Regions from separate parts of the Homo sapiens genome. Here all the other regions are linked to region 2. The links are contacts of gene promoters, found by promoter capture Hi-C in human tissues and cell types (Jung and others, 2019). All regions are on one chromosome and are shown on one strand. The core of a region is centred on a gene start or on the middle of the fragment in contact, and the rest is flanking DNA. Distances in the headings are between cores, read along the strand shown. Region 1 overlaps DYM (dymeclin). Region 2 holds the start of CTIF (cap binding complex dependent translation initiation factor). Region 3 overlaps DYM (dymeclin). Region 4 overlaps DYM (dymeclin).

Evidence for each region. Contacts are between HindIII fragments. The study calls those that stand out against the background at their distance.
Region 1: a contact is called between a fragment that was not itself captured here and the fragment with the promoter of CTIF in region 2, in 3 of the 25 tissues and cell types used here (dorsolateral prefrontal cortex, heart right ventricle and hippocampus).
Region 3: a fragment that was not itself captured here is called in contact with the fragment with the promoter of CTIF in region 2 in 2 of the 25 tissues and cell types used here (IMR-90 fibroblasts and heart left ventricle).
Region 4: a fragment that was not itself captured here is called in contact with the fragment with the promoter of CTIF in region 2 in 2 of the 25 tissues and cell types used here (dorsolateral prefrontal cortex and heart right ventricle).

Annotation. Positions count from the first base shown.
Region 1 is chr18:49,177,607-49,181,062 of GRCh38, reverse strand. The region is part of intron 14 of DYM (dymeclin); the gene reads left to right. Among named protein-coding and RNA genes, the nearest start is that of MIR4744, 130 kb to the right of the region's middle. The HindIII fragment of the contact is 6,578 bases long and covers 1-3,456 here.
Region 2 is chr18:48,537,781-48,541,605 of GRCh38, reverse strand. It overlaps CTIF (cap binding complex dependent translation initiation factor), which reads right to left and starts at 2,575. Exons shown (of 12, transcript NM_014772.3): 1 at 2,294-2,575. RefSeq lists silencers at 210-689, 1,010-1,099, 1,530-1,889, 2,390-2,469. The HindIII fragment of the contact is 11,515 bases long and covers 1-3,825 here.
Region 3 is chr18:49,427,488-49,431,175 of GRCh38, reverse strand. DYM (dymeclin) reads left to right here. Exons shown (of 18, transcript NM_001353214.3): 2 at 729-921. The coding sequence starts at 782. Among named protein-coding and RNA genes, the nearest start is that of DYM, 31 kb to the left of the region's middle. The HindIII fragment of the contact is 7,598 bases long and covers 1-3,688 here.
Region 4 is chr18:49,407,397-49,411,199 of GRCh38, reverse strand. The region is part of intron 2 of DYM (dymeclin); the gene reads left to right. Among named protein-coding and RNA genes, the nearest start is that of DYM, 51 kb to the left of the region's middle. The HindIII fragment of the contact is 3,355 bases long and covers 1-3,133 here.

The DNA of each region.
Region 1 (3,456 bases), core at 757-3,256, 640 kb before region 2:
CTGCAGCCTGGACTCAGGCTAGAGAGGTGCTGTGTTTGGTTTGCACAGTTTTTTTTGTTTGTTTGGTTTTGGTTTTTTGAAGTTAGAATTTGTTGCTAACATATAACAAGTTGGAATAGCTGGCAATGCAGAGCCCACAGTCCTCCATGCCAGAAATCAATTGGAACTGAATGGTGACTTTTTCCATAGGTTCTCTCTTAAGGGTTTTTACATTAATTCCCTCAATTTAACCATCACAGCAACTCTTAACTGCCACCATCATTATCACCAAGTATAAGGAAACTGAGTCTCAGAAAAATTAAGTGTCAGAAATCCCATGAGCTATTAAATGGAGGAGTGGGTGTTTAAATACAAATGTGTCTGAATTAGCCTATATTCCTTTCTGCATAACATCAAAAATGAGGTTATTTTATCTTTCAGTTGAAAAATCATTGGTATCCATAAATATTATATGATGCTAGCTGTAGTGCCCCAGGTATCAAGTTTATCATGTTAAATTGTGCAAGGTTAAAATTTACAATCATTTATCAATTTTCTTTAAGTTCCTTAATGTGGAGTTTACCATAGGCTACTTTCTCATTTCTAGAATATTGACATTTGTTGCCTGTACTGTCCATATAGGTTACTGATAAATAATTGAGAAAGGTGTTCACTTTAACATTGTTTTCCTATTTAAATTCTTTATTTAATATGATTCCCATTTATGAAAATAACAACTAATCACTACCAGAGAACGAGGATGGGCACTGACATCTATAGTTTTCTGGTTTCAAAAGGAACACAGAAATTAAACTTCATTTTGAATAAAAGCTGTCCATGATTTAGATAATAATTTATATCTCTTATCAAGAAAAAAGTCTTCCTTACAAAGATAGACTTGTATATTCTAGCTTAATAAATATTTACTTTTTGACTGAACAGATTAGATTCTTTAATCTGGGACTGTTTGTTTCTATCTAACTAGCATTGTTATCAGACTAGAGTTAGGTTTTTCCATACAACAGATCACTTGACAAATAATTAAATACATCTATTATACAAAAGTAAACTGGAATTAAATACTAACATTTATAGTCTAGGTCATGTAATTTCCTCTACCAAAAGTAAGGAAAATATTAACCCTCTCCACTTTAGTATAAACTTTAAAGAAGTTCAACAGATTCATGCTTTGAATAAAGTATCTTTTGCTTTCTTTTTTTGCCTTAAGTGGAAATGATGGTGCTGGTAGTAAGAGATTATTTTACTGTTGCTATCTCTGCTGATTAAGAATGAACAAAATATCAAAGCATTTACATACAGAGGAAGCAGTAGATACTTCGTGTTAAACAGACCTTGGGCAATTTACTTTCCCTCAGCTCCCTTCTCTGTAAAATAGGGATAGTAATATCTACCTTATGTTGACAATGATTTCTCTAAAGACCCAATCCTGTATTTGTTGTGTAATAGATACTCTATAGATGGTAACTATAAGCCTATTCATCGTTGTTGTCATCATCATCATCATCATCACAACAAAATAACTTTATGGTTTTGACAGACCTGAAGATATATTGTGTGGTAACTATATATTCCAAGTCAAAAGTTGTGACATGGTTTGTAAGCAAATGGTAGAATCACATTAGGTGACATTTTAAGTACTCAGTATATCAAGAAACTTTACAGTAGGTGTCTTAAATTGGACACTGTTCAAACAAATTAGAAATGGAGACACTCTTTAAGCCTAATAGATCTTTACTGAATATTGGTCAAATCTCCTTATCAGTTGTAATTACAGTACAGTGAAAAGTCTGTGTAACCCAAAGCTACTGAGCTTCAGATTTTAAATAACTCATAGCAAAATAAAGTTCAGTAATAGTCTCATACATGAAGGCAGTGAGATCATTATGGAATGGAAAGAGCACTGGATTGGGAGTCAAAAGACCAGAGTTGTTCTGGCTCTCAGAAAGCTTTGTGACTGTGGTCTAGTTGTCACCTCTCTTGTTTTTCATCAACACTCAAAGAAGGGAGCTGGATTACATTGTGAAGATCCCAAATATAATGTATCAATGCCCTTCAGTGTGCTGTAATGGGAATTAACTGTAGCTTTTGAGCCAGCAGAGGGAGCACGAAGCATGAATTTATGTCTGGGTTTTAGGAAAATGGGGGCGTGGTGGGGGGGTTACATGGTTAAACATTAATTACAGTTCTTAAAATAGATTATTTCCTATCAGGTTATACCCAACTTGATTTGATCTATAATATTATCTGGAGATGGTGGCATTCTTAAAACTACTGATAGAATTCTACCTCTGTAATTATCGGTAGTTATAATAAAGGACTATATTCCAAAAGTACATTTAATCCATGGTTATTTCTGAGGATTACTATCGTTTATTTTCTCTATTGTTAGTGTATTTTTATTAGAAAGAATTATAATTTTATCATTTTGGAAATATTCTGTTGATATTGAAATAACTGGGCTATTTGAAACCATAAGAATCTTTAAGTGATACATCATTTATCTAGCATTCTTGGGAATTGTGCAGTTCCACATATTTTCCAAATAACAAAAGTATGTTTCACTAAAGCGCCACCTTAAAAATGTTAGAAAGTATTTGGGATAGAGATCTTGCTATTGCAGACTTTTAGGAGTTTGAAGTAAAGACCTTACACACATTTGAATCTTTTTCTCATTGCTGCAGGGTTGTTGATTTGAGCATGTACTGATGTACTAAACCATAGTGGAATTCTGAGTTTGCTCCTTCTTTGATGTTGAGGCCCATTTTTCTCTTTTTGGTCACACTACTCTTAGATTTTTCCCATTTCCACATATTCCCATTCTGGTTTTCCTTTCTTCTTTGTTGCTTTTATTATTTAGAAGCTTTCACTGAGGAAGCCAGTAACTGAGCTTTCTGAGAACTGTGTTAAATTAAGATTCTAATTTAAGGCCTAAGGAGTTAAATCCATGGCTTTCCTATAGGCATTGATAACAACTTCATTCATGGAAATTGTTCTCTCTTTGTGGTTTCGGTTTATGTATTAAGAGGTTGGAAAGGGAGCTACTTCTTTATTCAGGATGAGTCACAGTAGAGATGGGTTTCTTATGAAGTTACTGTAAATATATGATTGGTTTTGTGGTTTTTCTAAAAAGTAGTTTTAGAACTTTAACTCAAAGAATATCTTATCCACCAGTCAGTAGATAGTTTATTTAAAAGGAAAATGAGGGATCATTAACCCACTGAAACCATTGGTATATACAGGAGGCATTGTGGAAGTGTTAAAAGAAGAAAAGAGGAATGGACATCTGTGCCCTTGAACTTGTATTCACATAAGAAATGAGACAAACCTACAAACAAAAGATAAAGGAAGACATGGGAAAAATGTGTAGGACAAGTATAAATTAATAATTAGGTACACAAAGATCAAAAGGAAGTTGAAATAAATGGATAAAGTTTTTACAGACATAAGATTTTTTTA
Region 2 (3,825 bases), core at 1,326-3,825:
TCCTCTAGCGTCTGTTCGGTGCATTCTGTTCACGTATAATTGGGTTTTCTTGAAAGCCAGGCCATCTCCTCGCGCAGCCCGAGCCTGCTAGGAGCCTGGATTCCTGAGGTTTTCAGCCCAGATCGGGCCCTGGGCAGGAGGAACTGGGAACGGACAGCCGGCGGCCCCTCCCTGCGCTCTGGGCGGCTCCTTCCTCTCGGCCCTGGCTCCAGCAGCGGCGGCGCTCTCTCGCGCTGTGTCACTTTCGCCCTACGGAGGCTCTAGCCGCGGCCGAGCCGGCGGCTCCAGCGGCTTCCTCCTTGGTCGCGCGGGCCCCTGGACTGGGGGATAATCCTCGGGCCGCAGAGACACAGCGCCGGGCGGGCGGCGGCCTGGGCCGGGCTGGGGCGCGCTGGGCTTGGGCTCCCACTGTCCCCAGACTGAAGAGCCGGGGCTGCGGTTGGCAGTCGCTGACTCTCTCCCCGGTCTGCGAAGGCAGCGGCGGCGAGCGCGGGCACGCACACCCATAGAACGCCTCGGTGCGGGGTCACCCCAGCGTGGACTGGGGGCGGCGCAGCCAAACCAACCCCCCGCGCCGCCGGGTGGACCCCCAGTCTGCCGGGTCACGGGGCGTCGCGGACGCGGAGGGAGGGGCTGTGTGACTCCGGCCGCACAGCGGACCTGGGACTCCTGCACCGAAGACCAGCACACGCGACCCTACGGTCTTCCCCGGCCCACAGCCGCACGGTCCCCTCTCCAAGTAACTCGGGCGCGCGCGCGCGGGGACACACGACCCCGACTTAGACAAGGAGGGGGCTGGCGGGACAGGTCGCGCGGAGGATCGGGGCCCACGCTTGTCCCCACTACGCCGCGGTCTGCGGTCCCCGCCCCCCACACACACCGGAGCCGTGTGTACACACAAACAGCCGGGCGGGGGAGGCGACGCCTCACTCCTCGGGGTGGAGACGCACGCGGCGCCGCCAGTCAGCCCTCCCCTCTACACGCCGCACACCCCGCGGTGCTCACACCCCCCAGCCCCAACCCTGAAAACTCCGCGGAACCAAACAGAGCCAACGCCGCCCAGATAACGGGCTCGGACCACCCCCCTCCCGATTGTCTTTTACCATCAATAGAGAAACACTCGGCTCAGGCGCGCGGTGTCCCGGACGCCCCCTCCGGCCACATCCAGGCACCGGCACGCGGCCCTCCGAGGCCCCAGACCTTCGCCGCAGCCCAAGCCATCGCCCCCCCGCCCGCCCTCCCCCATGACCGGCGCCCGGGACAGTTACCTGCTCGTCGTCCTGATGAACCCGAGCCGGAGCCCACCCCACGGCCTCTCGGGTCACTCGCCACCCAGAGGTGGCTTTTCAGAGCCTGTCAAGTGAACCCCTCTCCGCCGGGCGTATCTATTCCCCAGGCCCGATTGCACCGCAGCGACAGGAATAATAAAAAAAGCCAACAGAACCACAACCGTTGGGAATAACCAAAGGGGAGACCGCAACGGGTCCACCGATTTGGTTTCTTCCTCTGCTCCCATCCCCCGCTCCCCCCGCGGCCCGCGGGCTCACCGGGGACGCAGGGAGGGGGCTGCGCCCTGTCTAGACGACAGCCATCCACAGACATCCCCGAGCCCGCGGGGACGGGCGCGCACACTCACACACGCCCGCTGCCACAGACACAATCAGTCACCGGGGAAGGGAGGGGCGGCGTGGCGACACACTCTCGGGGTCCCTCCCGCAGCCCCGAGTGCCGCAGCCCCCGGCCCCCAAACGCCACCCCGAGACGGGCTCCCTACCTCGGCGGAGCGCGGTCTGAACAGCTGCAAGTTTGGCTGATACTAAACCAACTGCTCGATGCAGCAAATGCGGGCTTCAAAACAAAAGGGAGAGGAATCGCGCTCGCTCTTTTCCTCCTCCCAGGTCGGAACCCGGCACATGACAGCGGCTACACCGCGCAGCTCCAAAGCGAGCCGGGCTCCAGCCGTGCGTCCCCCAAGAGCCCCCCTTGGCGCCGGAGCTCCAGGGCCACGACACCCCGCGGGGCGGGGAACCCGGCAGGGAATGGGACAAACCCAGGGAGGGGGCGACACTGTGGAGTGCAGTTCCCCACCGAGGGGGAGGAGGGGATGGTAGATGGGTGCGGACACCCCGCTGGCCCAGGAGCAGGGATGGGGGGAAGGGGGCTGATTGTTTGGGGCGGTTTTCCCGGATTTATCTATAAGCACGCCCACGTCACGCAGCCCTCCTCCCGGGTCCCCGAATCGATCAGCAAGCTGAGATGACTATAAGAGGAGGACGGGCGAGGAGATGCTCACCTCGGGGTTCCTCTGGCCGCCGCGCCAAGCCCGAGTCGGGGGTGGGGGAAGGGGGCAGGGAAGGGGAAGGGAGGGACGAGGCTCCGGAGAGCCGACTCCTGCCTCGAGTTCGGAGCGTCCCAGCTGCGGAGGGGATCGGGCGCCCCAGCGCACAGACCCAGCAGAGAGGGGAGGGAGGGAGGGAAGGGAAACAGGGAGGGAGGGGCGGGTAGGGGGGAGGGAGTAGAGGAAGGAAAAAAAATGATCCCTGATCTGACACAGGGAAAGAGAATGTAGGAGAGTGACGTTCAGGCCCCGCCCTCCCCTCCGGCCACGTGCAAAGACTTGAAAGGAAAGAGGGCGGCTGGAGGCCTGCTGGGTAATGTAGTTCGCCTTTCTTTTCCAGGATGGCGGGCCCTGGAGAGCAGGGTGGCCCCAGGACGCTCGGGATGTCGCCTTAGCTGCCAAGACAGCCCAGTCTAGCGACGCCAAAACCCGCCGCCCAGCGACCCCACGGCGCTGGCGCAGCCCTGGGTGGGGGCCTCTGCGGTGGGAGAACTGGGGGCTTAGGCGCAGTCCAGGCTTACAGGGAAACGTTGGTTTTAGAGTCCGAAAGGCTTTAAGGATGAGAACGTCCGTGCCGAAAGTGCAAAGTCTGTGCTAATGGCAGATGAAAAGGAGCTTTGTGTATGCACTGGGGGGCCCAAGTGGCGTGATTAATGCTGCACTAAATGCCACCGTCGGTTATTGAGATGCATATGTTATAATTAACATTTGAGCATCTCTGTGTCGGGGGCTGGCTGTTGTAATTAGATACGCACTTTGCAACCAATTAATTTTCCTTCGGCCAAGCTAAGGGCTGGGACGGGGTGGTTGGGAGAATTCAACGTAGTGGATAATTCAGTAATGACTTAACCAGATCACCAATGTTTTGGTTAAAACTGAGCTTGGCACAGAGAGGCCTTCAGGAGAAATACTGAATAAAATACTGTATGCCCCAACAGGGAAGGGGGCTAGAAATTCATTAGAGGAACTGTGTGATGCAGTATAAACTGCTGTAGAAACCCATTTATTCATTAGTTTATATTCACATTTAGTGAGCACTTTCCACAGACCAGGTGTGTCTAGGAATGCCAAAACAGGTAAGACTCACAGTCTCTGCGCTCAAGGAGCTCAGTCCAGTATTAGGGACTACAGTCAATGAAAGTATTATACAAGGGATAAGTCAGCGCTTAACACAAAGTGCTGTGAAATTCCCCCCACCACACAACCTGGAGCAGCCAACTGGATGGAGGGTGGGTGGGGTCTGGGAGAGGGTCAGGAAGACTTCCTGGAGGAAGTGATACTTGAGCAAAGAATTTCTAAGTTTTTTTTTCTTTTTTTTTTTTTTTGGAGACTGAGTCTCTCTTTGTTGCCCTGGCTGGAGTGCAGTGGCGTGATCTTGGCTCACTGCAAGCTCTGCCTCCCTGGTTCATGCCATTCTCCTGCCTCAGCCTCCCAAGTAGCTGGGACTTCAGGCGCCCGCCACCACACCTGGCCAATTTTTTTTTTTT
Region 3 (3,688 bases), core at 431-2,930, 890 kb before region 2:
CCCCATAAGTAGAAGTAGCACATGGTAATTACTTGAGCTATGTTCCCTTCCTTGTACATTCAAGCCATCCAGATTTCTGTATTTCTTTGTCACCATTGTTTTGGTTGTAAAACAGCTTCATTTTCAGACTAATTATAAGTTACCATTATTATGATTTTGCTTTGAGACATTTTCTTGGGTAGAGCTATGCCCATCCTAAGATACATGGTACAAGTACAATATAGATTCGGATTTTTGTGTTTGTATTGGCTAAGACAGGTGTTAGCTCCATATTTCTTTTTTTTTTTTTTTTGAGATGGAGTCTTGCTCTGTCGCCAGGCTGGAGTGCAGTGGCGCGATCTTGGCCCACTGCAACTTCTGCCTCCTGGGTTCATGTGATTCTCTTGCCTCAGCCTCTTGAGTAGCTGGGACTACGGGTGCGTGCCACCACGCCCAGCTAAGTTTTGTATTTTTAGTAGAGACGGGGTTTCACCGTGTTGGCCAGGATGGTCTCAATCTCTTGACCTCATGATCTGCCCGCCTCAGCCTCCCAAAGTGTTGGGATTACAGGCGTGAGTCACCATGCCTGGCCTAGCCCCATATTTCTTGTAACTTTGTATCTGATGTCTAATATATTTATAAATACAGAAATGTGTGATTTTCTTTAGTAAGTTTATAGTTTTTTTATAGGTAGACAAAGCATGATGACTTTTGAACAAGTTTAAAGTTTTTATTTTTATTTTTTATAGGTTGTCTTTTGGAAATGCAGGTTTAAGGACAAATTATCTGCTTAAGCTAGAAGATGGGATCGAATAGCAGCAGAATCGGCGATCTTCCTAAAAATGAGTACTTGAAAAAGTTATCAGGCACGGAATCTATCTCTGAGAATGACCCGTTCTGGAATCAGCTTCTCTCATTTTCTTTCCCTGCACCAACTAGCAGGTAAGAGATTGCCTGGAGATTGAAAATTTGAATAGAGGGCCATATCAACTTGTGTGGTATGCTGATTAAAAAAAAATTTAGAAATGTTCTGTCTATCTATCTAGTCTATCTGTCATACATAGATCAGTAGAAAATCCAAAAGATTTGAAAGTAGAAAATAAGCTTTTCTTTTTACCCAACTCAGTAGCCACCTCCCTTCTCTAGAGGTTATCACTGGTAGCAGTTTATTTTGAATCGTTCTAGAGATAATATAGGTTACTTAAGCATATATCCCATATAGTTTCACAAAATTGTTTAAATACAAATGGTAGCATACTACACGTACTGTTCTGTCCCTTGCCTTTTTTTCCACAGTTAAGTAAAATATATCTTGTATATGTAGCACATTTGCAACTTCCTTATTCTTTTTAATGGCTGTGGAGTATCTGTAGAATATATTTAATTGGTTTTTCTGTTGATGAACATTTAGATTGTTTCCAGTCTTTGTTGTAACAGTTACTGCCGCATACATCATTTTTCATACACACAATATATCTTTAGTATAAATTCCTTGAAGTAGAATTGCTGGGTCAAAGTGTATGTGCATTTGCAATTTGGTAGCTATGCCAAATTGTGCACCATGGAAGTTGTAGCAATTTGCATACCTACCAGCAATGCATGAGAGGTGTGTTTCCCCATATCTTTGTCAGTTTGATGCATTTTAGACCTTTGACCTCTGCCAGTTTCAGAGGTGAAAAATAATATCTCATATTTAATTCTATTACAAAAACTGTCAGACAATAATAATGAAGAATGAATAGAATATTGAATTCCCATACACTCAATAACTAGATTTAAAAATTTTTTATTTACTTTTTAAGAGCTTTATTATGATAGGCAGAATAGTAGCCCCCCAAAGATGTCCATGTCCTTGTCTGCAGAATCTGAATATGTTACATTACATGGCAAAGGGGAATTAAAGTAGCAAAAGGCATTAAGGTTACTAATCAGCTGACCTTAAAACAGGGAGATTATCTTGGATTATCTGGGCAGGCCCAAAGTAATCACAAGGCTTCTTGAAAGTGGAAGAGGGAGGTAGAAGAGAAAGTCAGATGTGATGTGAGGAGGACTCAGCCTGCCCTTGCTGGCTTTGAAGATGGTAGGGAGGTCATGAGCAAGAAATATGAGCAGCTTCTAGAAGCTGGCAGAGGCAAGGATGCAGATTTCCCTCTAGAGCCTTTGGAAAGGGATGCAGCCTTATTGACATCCTGATCTTAGCTCATTGAGTGTCAGACTTCTGACCTACAGAACTGTAAGATAATAAATTTATGTTGTTCACACCACTAAATTTTGATAACTTTTGTAGTAGCAATAGAAAAATAATACACTTTTTGAGATATGTTTCATATATCATGTAATTCACCCATTTAAAGTGTATTATTCAGTGTTTTTATTCACAGAATTGTGTAACAATCACCAATTTTAGAACATTATCATCCCAGAAAGGAACCATCCCATGCCCTATCCCATGCCCATTAGCAGACACTCCCCCAAACTCTAGATTGCACTAGCAACCACTTATTTATTTATTTATTTTTTGAGAGGGAGTCTCAGTCTGCTAGAGTTCAGTGGCGCGATCTCTGCTCACTGCAAACTCTGCCTCCTGGATTCAAGCAATTCTTCGGCCTCAGCCTCCCGAGTAACTGGGCTTAACGGTTGCATGCCTTCATGCATGGCTAATTTTTGTATTTTTTGTGGAGATGAGATGTCACCATGTTGGCCAGGCTGGTCTCGAACCCCTGACCTCAAGTGATTCACCTTCCTCAGCCTCCCAAAGTGCTGGGATTACAGGCGTGAGACACTGCGTCCAGCCACTAATTTAATAACTACTACTAACTTTGCCTCTTCTAGACGTTTCATGTAAATGAAATTGTAACAATAGGTGGTCTTTTGTGACTGGCTTCTTTCTTTTTTTTTCTTCTACCTTTTTAGAGATGGGGTCTTGCTCTGTTACCCAGGCTGGTCTTGAACTCCTGGGCTCAAGAAATCCTCAGCACCCCAAAGTGCTGGGATTACAAGTGTGAGCCACTGCGCCCCGCCGTGACTGGCTTCTTTCACTGAATGTAATATTCATACATGTTGTAGCATGCACCAATACTTGCATTCCTTTTTTTCTTTTTTTTTTGAGACAAGGTCTCACTCTGTTGCCCAGGCTGGATTGCAGTGGTGCGATCGTAGCTCACTATAGCCTTGAACTCCTGGGCTCAAGTGATCCTTCCACTTCACCTTCCTGAGTAGCTGGGACCACAGGCATGCACCGCCATGCCTGGCTGCTTTTTAAAAAATCTTTTGTAGACATAAGGTCTTGCCATGTTGCCCAGGCTGGTCTTGAACGAACACCTGGCCTCAAGTGATCCTCCTGCCTCTGCCTCTGAAACTGTTGGGATTTATAAGCATGAGCCACTGGACCCAGCCTCCATTCCTTTTTATTGCTGAGTGATACTCCATTGTATGGATATACTGCATTTTGTTTGTCCATTCAGAAATTAATAGACATTTGGATATTGTTGAGTGATACTCCATTGTATGGATATAGTACATTTTGTTCATTCAGAAATTAATAGACACTGGGTTGTTTCTATATTTTGTTCATTATTGTTTTTTAAGTATCGTAAAGTCTTTTTTTTTACATAACCATAATACCATTATCACACCTCACAAAATTAACAATAATTTCTGCTACCCAGTTCATATTTAAATTTTTCCATATTTAAATTTTAATTAAATT
Region 4 (3,803 bases), core at 207-2,706, 870 kb before region 2:
AGAGTATCTCATTTAATATTATTCATATTGAAAGAGTATTAATCTGGAAGTTAAATATGTTTATTCTTATACCGTGACATTGGACAAGTTACTCTGCTTCTCTATTTCTGTCACTTGTAAAGTGAGGATACTCCCATTTCCTCGGTCAACTTCTCAGGGTTTTTAAAAGAAATCAAATGAAATAATAAAGGTGAAAGAACTTTGAATAGTGTATATAGGCCTGTACAAAATGCAAGTTATTTCAGCAAATTTATTTGCATATGGACAATAATATGCTAACATCTTTAAACACATTTCTTTTGTAGAAGGTTAAATAATACTTTTTCTAAATCCCCTCTCCCTTGTCAAAATGATTTCTTTAAAGTATAACACAAAAGTCAGTTTCAACTCAATTTGTTTAATTTTAATTTTAATTTTAATTTTTTTGAGACAGGGTTTTGCTGTATTGGCCAGGCTGGAGGGCAGCTCATTGCAGCCTCCACCTCCAGGGCTCAAGGAGCAGCTGGGACTACAGGCACTCTACCATGCCCAGCTAATTTTTTTTTTTTTTTTGGTAGAGAAAAGGTCTCACTATGTTGTCCAGGCTTCAACTCAATTTTAGACAAACAGCCCCCAATCCTGAATTAGTAAATTTCAGATCAGTGAAGTCTGCTAAATGTATATAATAAGACTTTTTTTTTTTTTGAGGTTGTGGTGTTATTATACAACCAATTGGTAAGCTTTTCTTCTAAGAGTATATATTATTCAACTTCTTATTTTTTTTTAACCTTAATCCCTGAGGACCAACACCATGGCCTGGCAGTGTCCATTGGTACCTCTTATAATACTTAAAAATCCAGTGACTGGGTACTGTGGCTTATGCCTGTAATCCCAGTACTTTGGGGGTCAAGGCAGGAGGATTGTTTGAGGCCAGGAGTTCTAGACTAGCCTGGGCAACATAATGAGACTCCATTGCTACAAAAAAAAATTTGCTGGGCATGGTGGCACACACCTGTAGTCTTGGCTACTCGGGAGGCTGAGGTGGGAGGATTGCTTGAGCCCAGGAGTTCTAAGCGGCAGTGAGCTGGGATCATGACACTGTAATCCAGCCTTGGGAATGCATCGAGACCCTGTCTCTAAAACACACACACACAAAATCCAAAGTGTTCAGATGAAGAAGAAAGAGACAGATGAGTTAGTAGAAAAGCAGATTGAGATGACAAAGGAAAAAAGTGTTGGATGATAGAAACCACTAAAGAGGCACAAATCGTTTCTTTAGGTACTACGTATAGGCTCCACGACCTAAGTCACAGAACATCAGCTGAGTTAGCTTAAGTGTGCTGCTTCTGTTGACCCCAGTTGTGAGTATTTCACTTGCAAACTGTAGCCTGCCTGACCTGCTACACCAATTGACCAACATATTGTAAATACCTCTTGCATATTTTCATATGTGACAATTATCAGGACTAGGTATTTAGTTTATTAGATGGTCCATGTTATATATTTATTTTTATTGTGGAAACTTGAATTCTTGAACTACAGGCTTCATATGAAAGAGGCTTTTTTTCCCTACCAACAAATATTTTTTCCTTATTAATTTGCCAGGATGGGAAAACTAATTGACATCCAACAGTGGTACTCTGTTGATGAATGAAGGGATACATGCTTTAACACCAAGCTCTGGTCTTTTTATTCCATCATTCATGAGCTGTGGTGGGGTCTCCCCTGAGTTGTGGTGGAGAGCAGATCTACCATCAAGGCCATGGTTGTTTCTCTTCCATCACCTCCTGAATTGTGGCTCATGACATTTGGAAGCATTTTCTGCTTAAGCAGCAATATAGTCAATCATGTGTCTTTATAATGAACAAATATAATCCAGAATTTTTTATTTAATATTTGCTAAGTTTTTTTCTTTTTTTTCTTTTTTTTTTTTTTTTGAGACAGAGTCTCACTCTGTCACCCAGACTAGAGTGCAGTGGTGCAATCTCGGCTCACTGCAACCTCCACCTCCCAGGTTCAAGTGATTCTCCTGCCTCAGCCTCCTGAGTAGCTGGGACTACAAGTGTGAGCCACCATGCTCGGCTAATTTTTGTATTTTTAGTAGAGACGGGGTTTCGCTATGTTGGCAGGCTGGTCCTGAACTCCTGACCTCAGGTGATCCACCTGCCTCGGCCTCCCAGGGTGCTGGGATTGCAAGTGTGAACCACTGTGCCCAGCCCACATTTACTGAGTTTTTACTTTTTCTGTCACAACTGAATATTTCTGTATTTTGTTGACTAGACCATTCTTGAAGTTTAGGCCAGAGCCGTTTGTTATGCCAGAGGATTCTCACATGAGTTTAAGTCCATAGAGGTTATAAACTCTGTACAATATTTATGTGCCCCGTCCCTCTTGTTATTTAATACAACAATTGATTGCCTGGGACAGCTAAAGAATTTAGGTCATGTTGAATAGGGTTCCTTCTAAATTTACATGGCACGGTAATAATTTGCTACTTAGACATCATACCCTTTATGGGTTCCTCTGTAGGCCATTTTAGAGGGAAAACAATCCATATTTGTAATAAAGCTTTATGCTTGCTTACTATCATCACATACTTATTTGAGTTTAAAGATAACTGGATTTGGTGTCAAAAGATCTTGATTTGCAACTTTGCAAATCTAGCAATGTGTGGAAGATTATAAGCCACAATTATGCACTACTGGTGGGTAATCTTTCTGGAATATAATTTGCGACATTCATCAGAACAGAAGTGTTCATTGACCTAGCAATTGCACTTCCAGATTTATGTTAAGGACATAATTGGACAAGTTCAGAAATATATGTGGAGAGACATGTGTAAAGACATTCATAGCAATGTTTATGGTAGAAAATTGCTAACAACTTAAATGTCCACCAGTAAGATCGGCTACATAAATAAAAATGGTGCATCTGCACACTGGAACAACATATAGCCGTTAAAAACAATCCTATGTTTTTAGATATGGAAAAGGACCTACAGCATATTAAGTAGTTAAAGCCAGTTATAAAACCATGTGTATAACATAATATTGTTCATGCAAAATTGTATATATATTTTAAAATGTATATGATATATTCATTTAAATTTTTAATATGTTTGTATAGCTTTTTATGGTTCAGTTTTTTTTTTTTTTTTGAGATGAGGTCTTGCTATGTTGCCCAGGCTGTTCTTAAATTCCTGGAATCAGGCAGTCCTCCCCCTTCAGCCTCTTGAGTAGCTGGCACTACAGGCATGTGCCACTGCACCTGGCTGGTTCAGTTTTTAAAACTTACTTGGAAATAATTTAAATGGATTAGAGGTTGCAAAAATGTACAGGGTGGTTCTTTAGCTCCCATAGTTTCTTGTAACTGTAACATCTTGTATAACTACAGTACAGTATCAAAAATAGGAAACTGACATTGGTACAATCCCCAGAGCTTATTGAGATTTCAGCTGTCAGTGATACGGTTTGGATATTTTGTCCCCTCCAAATCTCATGTTGAAATGTGACCTCCAACGTTGGAGGTAGGGCCTGGTGAGAAGTGTTTGGGTCATGGTGGCAGATCCCTCATGAATGGCTAGCGCCATCCCCTGATGATGAGTGAATTCTTGCTCAGTTTGTTCACACAAGATCTAGTTGTTTAAAAGAGTGTGGCATCTCTTTCCTTTCTCTCTCTTGCTTCTTCTCTTGCCTTGTAACATGCTGGCTCCTCCTTCACCTTCTGCAATGATTGTAAGCTTCCTGAGGCCTTACCAGAAGCTGAGCAGTTGCTAACACCATGCTTCTTATACAGCTTGAAGAACCATGAACAAATTAAACCTC